5 separate regions of the Homo sapiens genome follow, and regions 1, 2, 3 and 4 are each linked to region 5. The links are contacts of gene promoters, found by promoter capture Hi-C in blood cells and fetal thymus (Javierre and others, 2016). All regions are on one chromosome and are shown on one strand. Each heading gives the region's core, a stretch centred on a gene start or on the middle of the fragment in contact. The rest is flanking DNA. Distances are from core to core; before and after follow the strand shown. Region 1 overlaps EIF2AK4 (eukaryotic translation initiation factor 2 alpha kinase 4). Region 2 overlaps EIF2AK4 (eukaryotic translation initiation factor 2 alpha kinase 4). Region 3 overlaps GPR176 (G protein-coupled receptor 176). Region 4 overlaps GPR176 (G protein-coupled receptor 176). Region 5 holds the start of ANKRD63 (ankyrin repeat domain 63).

The links. Contacts are between HindIII fragments. The CHiCAGO score rates a contact against its expected background, and 5 or more counts as called.
Region 1: a fragment that was not itself captured here is called in contact with the fragment with the promoter of ANKRD63 in region 5 in 4 of 17 cell types (naive CD4 T cells, total B cells, activated CD4 T cells and 1 more); the score reaches 6.2 in naive CD4 T cells.
Region 2: a fragment that was not itself captured here is called in contact with the fragment with the promoter of ANKRD63 in region 5 in 1 of 17 cell types (total B cells); the score reaches 5.1 in total B cells.
Region 3: a fragment that was not itself captured here is called in contact with the fragment with the promoter of ANKRD63 in region 5 in 2 of 17 cell types (total B cells and naive B cells); the score reaches 8.3 in total B cells.
Region 4: a contact is called between a fragment that was not itself captured here and the fragment with the promoter of ANKRD63 in region 5, in 1 of 17 cell types (naive CD4 T cells). The highest score is 5.7, in naive CD4 T cells.

The regions. Positions count from the first base shown.
Region 1 is chr15:40,021,283-40,023,982 of GRCh38, forward strand. It overlaps EIF2AK4 (eukaryotic translation initiation factor 2 alpha kinase 4), which reads left to right. Exons shown (of 39, transcript NM_001013703.4): 32 at 1,237-1,323. Among named protein-coding and RNA genes, the nearest start is that of SRP14, 17 kb to the right of the region's middle. RefSeq lists enhancers at 1,092-1,593, 1,594-2,093. The HindIII fragment of the contact is 831 bases long and covers 977-1,807 here.
Region 2 is chr15:39,935,744-39,938,443 of GRCh38, forward strand. All of the region lies in intron 1 of EIF2AK4 (eukaryotic translation initiation factor 2 alpha kinase 4), which reads left to right. Among named protein-coding and RNA genes, the nearest start is that of EIF2AK4, 3.0 kb to the left of the region's middle. The HindIII fragment of the contact is 2,037 bases long and covers 332-2,368 here.
Region 3 is chr15:39,801,715-39,804,414 of GRCh38, forward strand. It overlaps GPR176 (G protein-coupled receptor 176), which reads right to left. Exons shown (of 3, transcript NM_007223.3): 3 at 1-540. Among named protein-coding and RNA genes, the nearest start is that of FSIP1, 20 kb to the left of the region's middle. The HindIII fragment of the contact is 568 bases long and covers 967-1,534 here.
Region 4 is chr15:39,885,700-39,888,399 of GRCh38, forward strand. All of the region lies in intron 1 of GPR176 (G protein-coupled receptor 176), which reads right to left. Among named protein-coding and RNA genes, the nearest start is that of GPR176, 33 kb to the right of the region's middle. RefSeq lists enhancers at 1-434, 435-966, 1,499-2,029. The HindIII fragment of the contact is 997 bases long and covers 921-1,917 here.
Region 5 is chr15:40,281,759-40,284,458 of GRCh38, forward strand. It overlaps ANKRD63 (ankyrin repeat domain 63), which reads right to left and starts at 1,306. Exons shown (of 1, transcript NM_001190479.3): 1 at 1-1,306. The coding sequence starts at 828. It also overlaps a transcript of PLCB2 not described here. RefSeq lists silencers at 788-1,057, 1,068-1,127, 1,198-1,267. The HindIII fragment of the contact is 15,046 bases long and covers 1-2,700 here.

The DNA of each region.
Region 1 (2,700 bases), core at 142-2,641, 260 kb before region 5:
CTGGGAAGCTCTAGGGGAGAATCTGTGTCCTTCCCTTTTCTGGCTCCTAGAGGCCTCCTGCATTCCTTGGCTCATGGCCTCTTCCTCCATCATCACACTCAGCAATGAAGCGCCTCCTTCCTTGCTGACCTGTGCTTCTGTTCTTACATCTGTCTCTAACTCTTGTCTGTCCAGCTCCCTCATACATGCACCCTGTGATTACGTGGGGCCCACCCAGATAATCCTGGTTGATCACTCACAGGTTCTAGGAATGAGGATATGGACATCTTTGCGGGGCTGTACTCCAGCCTGCCACACTTCTGAAGGCACTCAGTGCTTAGTGTGTTTTGGGCTCTGTATCCTGAGACCTCCCACAGCATGCAGGCCTGACACTTGCCGTGGGTGTGGAGGTGTGGAAAGTGGCACCCAGGACACATGCCTGCCCTTTGGAATGGGGGCGTAAGCAGACCATAGAAGGGGTGCACTCCCAGGAGATCATCCAGGTTGTACCCACATTCGCCCACACTAAAGGTGCCCCAGAGCATGGCGATGACCAGGGACACAGACCCACCACCCTCCCACCTGCTCTGTTTACATCACCTGCCAGGAGGCTTCTGAAGCTGCTGCTGTTTACTCGTGTGTGTGTGTTGTATCAAAATTCACATCAGAAGTGTGCTGAGCAACAATTTTTAATCATTTGACAGAACAGTGTCCTCTTCTACTTGTTCACATGTTTCATAAATCATTAGAGAAGTGTTCTGTCCTGCAGTAAAATCCAAGCCTCGTGGCCAGTGACCTCAGTCCTGCACAGTGACACCCCACAGGCTTCTCTGCCCCCTCCTGGTTTGCTTCTTCAGTTCTGCTTTTCACCTTCCCTTATTTCCTTTGTTTCCTTCATTTTCCTCAGAGGCTTTTTCAGCGTGTGTGTGTGTGTGTGTGTGTGTGTGTGTGTGTATGTTGTGTTGTATAATTTTGGGCATCTTTTATTAAGTCTTGAAGCTTTTGAAAACCTCTTACTATTGATTGATTATTCATGGCCCTTTAAACAATCATGAAGGGAAGGGAGGCAAGAGAGGCCTTGTTCCTCCCTTGAATTCTATGCGGCTTCTTGCTTAATATTTATATCCCCCTGAAGTCAGCATTTTAGTAATTCACATTGAGAATATAATTGGAAACAGTATTTTCATTCTCCTTAATTACTTGAAGCTGTTCCAGGTGCTCTGTGTTTATTTTCTTTACTATGTTTGTTTGTTTCAGTCCCAAGAGGAATTACAAGAGTACTGCAGACATCATGAAATCACCTATGTGGCCCTTGTCTCGGATAAAGAAGGAAGCCATGTCAAGGTAAAGACGTCAGAGATTTTTTACAATTCAATAGTTAGGTGTTACCTGTGGAGCACCTGCCTTCACACTGAGGCCCGGGCCGTGTAGGTGACTGGAAATCCGTTCCCTCTACTCTCCCTTTCCATTGTTGGGTTTCTTTTTTTTTTTTGAGACGGAGTCTCGCTGTCTCCCAGGCTGGAGTGCAATGACGCAATCTCGGCTCACTGCAAGCTCCGCCTCCCGGGTTCTCGCCATTTTCCTGCCTCAGCCTCCCCGGTAGCTGGGACTGCAGGTGCCCGCCACCACGCTCGGCTAATTTTTTGTATTTTTAGTGGAGACGGGGTTTCACCATGTTGGCCAGGATGGTCTCCTGACCTCGTGATCTGCCCGCCTCGGCCTCCCAAAGTGCTGGGATTACAGGGGTCAGCCACCGCGCCCGGCCGTTGTTGGGTTTCTTGCTGAAGAAAATGTGTATAAAATAAGGAAGAGAGTCCACCTTCATTAAAGCTTTAAAAAGCAAAACAAACAAAAAAACTGGCTGTGGTTTTTTCCTACTTTTCTCCTCTTGTTCTCTTTTTCCAGCTAAGAAAATAAGAATAAGTAAAGTTGTATCTGCTGATAGGCATATCCTCTCATTGCTTTGTAACCAATTTTACTTTTTTGTATTCAACTAAAAGTGTTCATAAATATACCACCTCATAACCTTTATTTCTAATTATTTTTAAAGGGAAAAAAACTTTCTTAAAAATATTTTTCTCTTCTAATTTTTTTTTGGTTTCGATATCAGGGTAATGTTGGCCTGATGAAATGAGTTGGAGAGTGTTCTCTCCTCTTCTGTTTTCTGTAAGATACTGTATACAATTAGTATTAGAAGTCCAATCTCAAATATTTCTATATATAGAGCTATTCTGGTTACCTCTTTCTTCTAGAGGCAGCTTTGGTAGTTTATATCTTTCCCGGAACTTTTCCATTTCGTCTGAGTTTTCAGATATTCCCCTGTTATTGTTTCACTGTCTCTAGGATCTGCAGTGATGCTCCCTCCTTCAGACCTGATATGGGTAATTTGTGTCCTCCCTCTTTTTTGTCTAATCAGCCTGGCTAGAGATTGATCAGTTTTGTCTTTCCAAGGACCAGCTTTTGGTGTCATTGATTTTTCTCAGTTTTTATTTGTTCATGTGTTTTCTATTTTATTCATCTCCACTCTTATCCATTACTATTTTCTTCCTTCTGCTTATTTTGGATTTAGTTTATTCTTTTTTTAGTTTCTTCAGGTAGAACTTTAGATGAGGTATTGACAAACTACACCTTGGACCAAATTCAGCCCATAGCCTGCTTTTATATGTCTGTGAACTAGAAATTTTTACATTCTTTGTTAAAAAACAACAACAAACAAAGGAG
Region 2 (2,700 bases), core at 100-2,599, 350 kb before region 5:
AACTCAGGGTGCTTCTTCCTTCATTAAATATTTGTTTTAGGCATTAGGAATACAGCTGTGGGCAAAACAGACAAAAATCCTTGCCCTCAGGGAGCTTACTTTTCTAATGCTTAATAATATGAAGTTATTTTTAACCTGAAATGGTAAAAATATAAATTATTCCCCTTAACATGACAGAGAAGTTGGTGACTGGGGAACTTCTATCTTCCCAAACCTTGAGAATCAGGAAGTAGGCCCAAGAAGCAGCCAAAATAGGTGTCTCAAAGTGTACATGGGACTCAACACAAAGCTCCTAAGGCTTCATTCTGAACTAGTTTGTTTACTTTATACAAGCTTAGTTGTCTGCTCCTAGGGCTGCAGAAAAATGGAAGAGAAAAAGCAACTTCTTTTAGGTAGGGATATTGATAACCTCAAGAATTTATAGCTGGTGGCTTTCATAACAAGATGGAATACTAGACAAACCAAAGCAAAAACTATAGAAGGCAGGCAGAAGAATTTAAATAGCTGTCTGTGGCCTATTGTACACCGGGCAAATGGCCTCAACACATTCATAGGACTGGCAGGCAAATAATTGATGGTCTCAAGGATGAATCAGAGTTTAGTCATTCAACAAGCACTTATTATCACCTGCTATTTGCCAGGGAAAAGTGATGCAGGTCCAAAATCCTTTATCCAAAACTCTTTATTGAGAGGGAGTTTCTCTCTGTCGCCCGGGCTGGAGTGCGGTGGAGCAATCTCGGCTCACTGCAACCTCCACCTCCCAGGTTCAAGCGATTCTTGTGCCTCAGCCTCCTGAGCAGCTGGGATTACAGGTACCCGCCTCCACACCTGGCTAATTTTTGTATTTTTAGTAGAGATGGAGTTTCATTATGTTGGCCAGGCTGGTCTCGAATTCCTGACCTCAAGTCCTCCCGCCTCGCCTCCCAAAGTCCTGGGATTACAGGTGTGAGCCACCGTGCCCAGCCTTTTATCCAAAACTCTTGAGACTTGATGGGTTTCAGAATTCAGAAGTGCTTCTGTTCACGTTTATGTGTGCACATTCCACACATTACCTAATACCTTCCTCAGTGTCTGGGGCAGCATCGAAAATCAAACACAATGAAACATAGAAATACTCAAATTTCACACTGAACAAATAAACACTATAACTAACCTCATGTCAGTTCAGGCTAAATTTGCTGCCAATAAATTCAGGTTAGATTTTTTTTTCAACTTCTTTTAGTGGGGATGTGTTGTAATATAAATTTCAGTTTAGTAGCATATGTATATCATTTATAAATAACATTTTGAGGTGCATGCTAAAAACTTTTGCATTTGTAAAAAGTTTAGACACTGCTAGTTTAAAGTATCTATAATTTATAGATAGTTACAAATTACTAACTTATTTTGGCTAGCTTTCCACAGCAGCAAAAGGTCTGCTCATTTATAATTTGATAGCTTTTGGAAACATCCCTCCAAAAAACTTGCTTCAATCCCTGGATCCCCCAGTAGTGTATGGTGGTGTTTGTTTTCCTTTATCTTCAACAATACTATATATGTTAGACTTTTTCATCTTTGCCACATAAATGAAACATATCTCATTTTAATTTTTATTTATTTATAAATTATCTAGAACACCTTTGTTTACAAACCATTGATTTTTCTTTTTCTGTGAACTGCTCATACTCTGGTTTATTTTTCTACTCTGTGGTCCATTTTCTTGTTTATTTGTAAGAGCTAAATATCTTAAGAAAACTAGCATTTTGGGTCATATAATGCATATATTTTTCTCCTAATTATATGCATTTATTTACGTAATTTATGTGATTTAAAAAATGTTGATAGAGTCAAAATGACCTTTTTTTTCTTTTATGGTCCCTGTGGGTTTTTTTTCCCCCTCTGTTCCAATGTTACTAAAAACCAAATTCGTCAAAGTTTACTTTTAACTTGTTCATGACTTCGTTTTTAAATTTTCATCAAATAAAGATATAAGTAGGTTTTTTTTTTTAAGTTCTTCGTTCCATCAAAGTACGGGCCTAGGCCACCTCCCCGTGTGCATCCCTCCTCCTCCAGCTAGGCAGCTAGACAAATATAGGCAATTGAATTTTTCAGTGTCTTCCACTCATTTGAAATGCCATTCCTACAAGCCCAGTGCCTGGTAAAACAAACAAAAAACTTTCAAAAATTGTTACTGAATGAAATAATTCTCAAATGTATTTCAAGTCTCTTTTTTTCCTTGCCTGGAATGCTTGGTCTCTTGGCTTGTCTCAGCTTCAATGCTACATCCTCAGATAGTTCTTCTTTGATAACCACATTTAAGTATATACCCTCACACCCCAAGTCGTTTGTTAAGGAGAGCACCACGTCATCTCTTCAACGGCACTCTCTAAGCTTGTACTTATGTGTTTATTATGTTTGTTTTCCCCCACCAGACTGAAGTTCCATGAGAGCTGGAACCATATCTGTGTTCTCACCTCCGTGGACTAAGCACAGTGCCTGACACAGAGTCAGTGCTTAGCAAATATGGGTGATGGATGTGTGATGGGTGAATGAGTGGATGAAAGACCTGTGGACCAAAGAGTGCTTAACCCTTCCCCAGACCACATTCGCAGAATTATGCTTTATGGAAGGACCCACACATTTATCAAGGATTATTATAAAGCCATATAAGAACTGATCTTACAAATTTTGTACACATAGTAGAAGAGTACAGTGTTTATT
Region 3 (2,700 bases), core at 1-2,500, 480 kb before region 5:
GTAAGAAAGAGAACAGGGTTTGCCAGCAGGGAGACTTTGGGCAGCCAAACAGCAGTGAGCAGCAAGAAGACGGAAGTGTCAGGGACATTGAGCACAGTCTGGTAGACGACCAGGGTGGCATAGGGCACGCTACACAAGATGAAGACCATCACCATGGAGAGCAGGGTGGCGTGCAGCTCGGCCTCCCGCTGGGAGGCATAGGGAATAGAGATGGTGTTCTGTGGGGTCCGGAGCGCTGCTATGATGACCTTCTTCTTCTGGCTGGCACTCAGGGCCCGTCGGATCAGTATCAAGAAGAGGAACACCACCACCACAGGCACAATGACCGTGGTGATGTTATACACCAGAACGTACACCAGGTGGCCCAAGGAGTTGCTCCAGACTTCCGTGCAGGTGGACGTGGCATAGATGTCAGCCACATTGGTTACTGCAAACACAGGGACACTGGCCACCACTGCATGGGCCCAGATGTACATCACCAGTTCACGGGACTTGGCATCAGATATTTTCCTCTCCAGTGGATAGAGGACTGAGTAGTACCTGCAAGATACACAAACAAAATTAATTCCACAGAAGATACTTTTTAAATTAGGGGAACCTAAATCACCAAAAGTAGATGAGAGGGAAGAAAGGTCAAGTTCTTCTATTCGGCCTAAGACAGAAAAGCACTGGGGGAATCCAGGAAGCCAGACCTAAGTTTTGAGGACTTTGCAAGTACAATAAGAAGCGTCACTAGACCAAAAAATAAAAACCTTTCCAAAGGAGCAGCAAACCTGTCCTCATGAGGCTTTACAGGAAAACAAGTAAATAATTTCAATTCATAGCTAGCTTTATAATTATTGCTACCAGGATGAAATCGCAAACAGTACCCTCCATATAAAAGATTTCTCCATCTGCTATAAAGATATCTACTTTTCAATTTGAGGGTAAAGGGTAATTGGTAAACAATTTTATATGGGCTAAAGAAGCTTTAGGGCAATTTTCAAAGCTACCAACAGAAATAAGTTTGTCTACACACATATCTAAAGCAGACTTATGCCACAGTCCAGATATCATTAACAATTAAAGTTGTTCAGGGCAGAAGAACCAGTATGAAGAATGGACTCCGACAAGGTCCTTCCACAAAAATCAATTCAGCTGACAAAAGTTATGCCTGCTCAACAGTCATTGCTCCCATGATAATCACTCAGTAACCCTAAGGGCAATTAATAGGTCTAAAATGCCTGCACAATTAGATTTTTGTTAAAATCAGATGAGACATTGTTTTTCCTTCCAATATTTAACTTGATCATTCTGTAAGCACCTAAACAGAATTCCAAAAGCATGCCGTTTCAATATCACCAGTGATTTGAGGGAACTGAATAACTCTTTGCACCCTAGAACCACATCTGTAGTAAAAGGGCTGCCACTAGCTCTCAGAGATATGGTCAGTTTCTTCACATTTGCTTGGCCATATCTGTGCAGTCAGTTAATGCTGGGGTTGACCTTACAACCTTAGTGACACCCATTCACTCATAGGGCAAGTAAGCACATAAGCTTTCAGATAACAAGTACTTCTTTTTTTTTTTTTTTTTTTTTTTTTTGAGATAGAGTCTCACTCTGTCGCCCAGGCTGGAGTATAGTGGCATGATCTAGGCTCACTGCAACCTTCGCCTTCTGGGTTCAAGCCATTCTCCTGCCTCAGTCTCTCGAGCAGCTGGGATTACAGGCATGCACTACCACGCCTGGCTAATTTTTGTATTTTTAGTAGAGACGGAGTTTCGCCATGTTGGCCCAGGCTGGTCTCGAACTCCTAACCTCAGCTGATCCACCCGCCTCGGCCTCCCAAAGTGGTTGGATTACAGACGTGAGCCACCGTGCCCAGCCTCCTGTAACAGGTACTTCTGAGCACCACCTATGCACCAGGTCCTGTGCCTGGCACTGGGTTATAAGAATGAAAAGACACAGGAATGTCTCTAAACCCAACGGGGACAAAGATACACACACTAATAATTACGAACAAGGAGATGACAGCTCTACTAGAGGCAGGCACAAAGGAGGTACAGGTAGCGCCTAAAGCCACCTGGGAAAATAGCAAGAGAGGGAGACACTGCAGTGGAGTCTGGCAGGGGGACCAGCTGAAGGGGAACATTCCAGGCTGAAAGAGATGGGATGCAAACACAATAGCGACCATGGACAATCAGGGAAGGAGGGAGCATGGTAAGATATGTTCTAGATTTCTTTCTGGGAGGAGGGAAAAAGAGAAAGAAGTGCATAAGTGATGCATGCTTTCACATTTTTTTTTCTCTGAATGTAGATAGTTTTGTAATGACAACTCAGTAAATATGTGATGGCCCCACCTGTACACATGAATAGATGCTTAGGAGTTCACTGGCTCTGACTGCCATTTGCTCACTGACATGTAACAAACCCAGGCTTCCATTAATTTCCAATCCCGTTACATGTTGGGAAACAGATTGCAACATAAGCACACAGGCTCACTATAAATAATGTTCTTAGTGTGTACACCTCTAAACAGTGATGCAAGAAGTGTAGATGACCTCCCGATGAACTTGCTGACTTAGTACCATGAAATGAATAGCTATGAAGGAAGTGAGAGAAAAGACTGTCTTCTCTTCTTCAGGTGTACATGTGGATGCTTGTAAGTAATTTGCATCTGTGAATAACAAAATAGGAATTCACCAGCCCTGTTTTCCTACT
Region 4 (2,700 bases), core at 169-2,668, 400 kb before region 5:
CTTGTTATATGTAAGAAAAATAGAAAATAATAGATTGCTGATTCCATTTGCTTATGGCAAGAAAGAAAAATAATTACATGTTTCAGCCATGCACTGTACCTATCTCAAAAAGTGATGTAGAACAAGACACTGATGTAGAAGACAAGAGAAAGACAGTTTCTCCAAGTCTCATACTGAATAGACAATTCAATGCAATTTCCCTGCTTTCACAAGGGAACACTAAACAATGCATCTTTAGAAATGGGAATATTAGGCCAGGCACAGTGGCTCATGCCTGTAATCCCAACATTTTGGGAGGCCAAGGTGGGTGGATCACCTGAGGTCGGGAGTTTGAGATGAGACTCACCAACATGGAGAAACCTCGTCTCTAATAAAAATACAAAATTAGCCAGGCATGGTGGCGGGCGCCTGTAATCCCAGCTACTCGGGAGGCTGGGGCAGGAGAATCACTTGAACCCGGGAGTAGGAGGTTGCGGTGAGCCCAGATCGTGCCATTGCACTCCAGCCTGAGCAACAAGAGTGAAATTCTGTCTCAAAAAAAAAAAGAAAGAAAGAAATGGGAATATTAGACTTTGCCTACCAGGAACTGTAAGACTCAGCAGAGAATTTTACAGGTATACTTCCCTCCTGCTGAGTGTCAGCAGTAAGAAGGAAAGAACACCCACCTAGAAGCAGCACAACCTGGGGACTTGTTCCAGCCCTGACATGCTTGCACAAGTCACTTCATCCCCCACCCCCATCTTGATTTTCACATCTATAAAATTACAGCATTGGACCAAGTTAAGATATCTGTGTTGTTTTTCCCTCAACGGTGGGCCAAATGGTCTGAAACATCTAAGTGTGAAGCCTGAATGATCTCAAAAATTTTAATGAGTTGAGAGAATCCACACTTGGCACACGAATACTAATTAGAGTGACAAAGCTTGAGTCAAAGGCACAAAAAGTGCTTACTCACACTGATCTCCTTTGTAAATTATTATGCAAATGTTCCGGTTCCATAATATAACATTAGGAGAATTAAACTGTAACAGCTGAAAATGAAATGCCTGTAATTAATTATGTTCACCTTCAACTGTAATGACAGACCTGGGCCTGCTAATAGCAAGGTGTCACATAATAGTGATCCTTAAGAGGGGGCTTTGTCCTTACTGACCTACCAGATTGTGTGGGTATCCTAATTCCTAATTTAAATGGAAAAAGTATGCTACCAACCTTTCCCAGGCTTAACTCCAGCATCAAGCAGTCTGCATTTGTTCCAATGGGCCATACGTTGGGACCCCAAGGGAACACGAGGTTATTTCCTCTCTAATATTCTATGAGTCTAAACCAGTGATTCTCAAACTTTGATGTACCTATGAATTACCTGAGAAACATATTAAAAATGCAAATTCCTAAGCCTCACTCCAGAGGCTGTGGTTCAGTAGATTGGGAGTGCATCCCAGAAATGAATATTTTTAACAAGCACAGGAAGTGGTTCTGATGCAGGTAATCCAAAATCCATACTTGGAAACACACTGGCAACTCAAAAGTGGCTGGGTCCTAGAAGCAGAAAAAGGCCAGGGTTTTCCTTATTTGGTTAAAAACAGCACAGTCAAGAATTAAATTCCAAGCCAGCATAGTGCATATGTAAGTCCTTGCTAATGAGGAAGACTGAGGTGGCTCAGGCATAAATGGAACAATGCATATTTCCAGATCAACACAAAGAGGTGAATGGCCCACCACCCACATTTGCTGGAATGCCGCTGTGTAAAACAGCAGCATCATTCATCCAACAGGTGAGAAACAGCAGGGGCAAATGAATCATTCATCCAACAGGTGAAAAACAGCAAAGGCAGAGGCTCTGCAGAATCATGCAAACCTGACCAGGATTTATGCAGCATCCAACAGTTAATTTAAATTTAAAAAAAAAAAAAAAAAAGCTTGTCTCCTTTCTGCTTTTACTTGTCTAAAGCTTCTGGAATTTCCTGAGGACTTATTTTCCTAGAAGAAAATCTCACCCGCTCAAATCATACCACCTATTAGTAAGCCTGGCACAATGATTTTCAAGCGGAAAGATTCAAAGTTCTTTACTGAGAATCCTAAATCCTCTTCCAGAGGAGTATGTTGAAGGGTAGCTGAATATGCCATCCCAAAATATGCCACTTTGGCATAAGGATTATTTGGAGTTGAAGGCAACTGGGAAGATGCAGATATAAAAGAAGCTCTCTGCCATCCTCCTATCTGCAAAGGAGTCTAGGAAGGACAAAGGCTGATCACCAGCCTGGAGAGGGCACCAGAGGAATGAATCTACACAACAAACTTTCTAACTTAGCTTTATCTACCAGGAGTTTCCCATGTATTTTATTTGTCTTCCCACAGTTTGCCACGCCTAGAGACTCAAGGTCCTTTCCCTTTCTGCAGTCATTTATCTAAATATTTACTGTTCTTTGTTGAAAATGCTGTAAAGCCAGAGTACTAAGCCACCTCTTTGAGATCTATTCACTTCTCTGGTATCTCCCATATACATATAACACATATGTGTTAACTTCTTGCTTTTCTCTTGTTGGTTTTTTTGGGGGGTGAAGGGAATCTGCTTTTTATTTGTTTTTTTTGTTTGTTTGTTTGGAGACAAGGTCTCACCCTGTTGCTCAGGCTGGAGTGTAGCGACATGATCATAGCTCTCTGTATCCTTAAACTCCTGGGCTCAAGCAATCCTCTCAC
Region 5 (2,700 bases), core at 56-2,555:
GGCCCCAGCCCGCAGGCGGGCAGCCTCCTCCTCGGTTACCGCACCTAGAGCCAGGCTCATGCTCCGACCCAGCTCGGGCCGTTCGCTGCCCTGCGCCCGGTGCCGGCCCGAATTCTTGCCCGCTGAGCCAGCCTCGCCGCCGTGGCCGCCCGCCGCTCGCGCAAAGCGCGCCAGGAGAGGCCGCGGGAGGCGGCGGGGGCTGGGTCGTCGATGCTCGGGGCTGGCCGCGGGGGCCGGGCGGCCAGGGGGACTATCGGAGTTGGAGCCCCGGGCCGCAGCGGCGGCGGCGGCGCGGCCCCAGGGCCCGGTGAGGGCCTGCACACAGGTCCCGTGGCCGCGGGCGGCGGCCAGTTGCAGCGCGGTGAGCCCCGCACGGTTGGTGCGGTCGAGGCGCAGGCCTAGGCGGCGGAAGGACCGCACCAGGAACTCGAGCACCGCCCCGTGGCCGCAGGCCGCCGCCCACATCACCGGGCTGTTGCCCGCAGAGTCGGCCGCCTCGGGGTCACCGCTGAACTGCACCAGCAGCTGCACGGCGTCCAGGTGGCCTCGCTCGCACGCCAGGCTGAGTGCGGTGCGGCCGCGCTCGTCTCGCAGGTTCACTGCAGCACCCTGCTCGAGCAGCAGCCGCACGAAGCGCGCGCGCAGCGCGGGGTCCGGCAGCCCCACGGCCACCATGAGCGGCGTACGGCCCTGCTCCGCGCGGCAGTCGATGATGCTGCGGTCCAGCGCATCCAACACGAAGCGGGCCAAGTGCACTTTGCCCGCCTGCATGGCCTCCAGGAAGGTGCGCGTCCCCGCTCGGGGGCACAGGTCCTTGGGTTTGAGCATGGCCCCGGCCGCCGCGCCCGGGCAGCCTGGCAGTTCCGCACGGGGGCGCCCCTGTTCTCGCGCCCCGCGGGGCTCCGGCCTCCGCCCGCGCTCTGATACCTCTCCCTCCGCGCGTGGGCGGCTGCAGCCGAGGGTCCCGAGGTTCCTACTCCGCTGTCCCGGAGGCTCCGACTGCCCCGCCGCTCCTGGGCCGCACGCCTGGCGTGTCGCCGCTCCTTCCCCGGGCCTCCCGCCTGGAGGTGTTGATTGCTCGCTACTCCGGGCTCCGCTCCTGGCCCGCCACCAGACGTCGGGAGCAGAGACTCGACCCTCTCCCGAGTCTCTCGCCGCTTTCCCGGTGTCCGGCGCCCCTCAGTCCTCGTGGTTTGGAGCCGCCGTGCCACTCACCCGCACCCAGGGCAGCCCCCGCTCCCCCGCAGCGACGGTGGCGCCCGCCGTGCACGCCTGCCTCCAGCCCTGGCGGGGCGCGCCGCTCCTCAAGCTGCTGGCGCCGTTCCTCCGCCTCCTCCCCTCTCGCGGGGGCCGGGCCACGCCAGGGCGCTTGCTCCTTACTTGGGGGGCTCAGCGGCGCGGGAGCTGCCGCCCGCCTAGATACCTGACTTTATAGCCTTGGGGGTCTCCATGGCAATGGCTGTCCTGGGAGCGGACTGCGCCGTCAGGGCAGAGACGGACGGGGCGGGGGAGACCGCTCCTGACCCCCACCCCTTCGTGGGCCACGAAGTAGGGGAGCGGTTCCTCCTCCGCGCTCCCCTGGGAATGCGGCGGCGGTTGCGGGGCGGGGGCGGGGGCTGCTCGCCGGGGGCCACATGCACCCAACCGGGCCAATCCCAAAGTCGCAGTCTTCTCTCCCCGCCCTCCGCCCCCAACCGAGTCGGTGCCCTCGGCTCCTTAGAAACTGGCGGGACCTCGGCCTCGTCGGGGAAGACTGAAAGCTGCCCCCATCGGTCCAGGGTGAAAGGAATTGGGACCCCATGAGCGCAGAACTGGACCACGCGCGAGCTAGGGGTGGCAGCGAAAGGCGGATGAGGAGTAATTTGGGGGAGGGGGTATACGTGCCGCGGATTGGGGGCGCTCAGCCTGGCTGGGAACTGCCACTCGAAGTGCAGAGAATCACGCACTCACACACAATTGTTCCACCCGCACACGCTCCCTGGGAACGAGGGGTGGGGTCCGAGTGCGCTCTCCAATTTCAGACGTCTCCAACCCCGACAACGCGCCCGCGTGCCAGCTCCTGGTGGCTGCCTAGCGGGCAGAGTGTAGACGCCCAGACCAGGGAGGGGCTCCTTAGGACCCGGGAGTGCCGCGGACATGTTAAAAGTTCCCTGGCGCCGCCACCCTGGAAAGAGCTAGGGACCCACTCGAGGTTCCCTGCCCCTCGCTTCTCCCTTGAGCACAAAACAACCCCCAGGCCACAGGGCTCTGGCTCTGACCACTGGCTGACCCCTAAAGAGAGGAGGCGAGCACAAGTTCCATTTTCCGTAAGATGCTTGGAGAAACCACTGCATCTCCTCTCCCTCCGGCCAGCAGGTCCCCCTCGGTCCTGGAGGAGGGGGGATGATACACAGGCCTGGGCGGAGCAGAGTTAGGGCGCCTCAGAGCCTGGGTGTGGGTGGTGGGGAGGGTGTGAGTAGGGTTGGAATGGATATTTGTAAAGTAAGGAGTAAAGCAGTTATCAGCTGCAGAATTTACTGAGACTTTTCATGAGCCGCACATTTTGTTGCCGGCAGCGGGTAAGAGAGAGACAGAATCTCGGTTCTGGGTGCGAGACGTTCCACCTCTTAAGAAGACAACACTGGGACTTAAAAAATGGACGTTGTCACCTGAGGGCTGAATTCTTCTGCTAAATACGTACCAACACAGTCCTTGGATGAA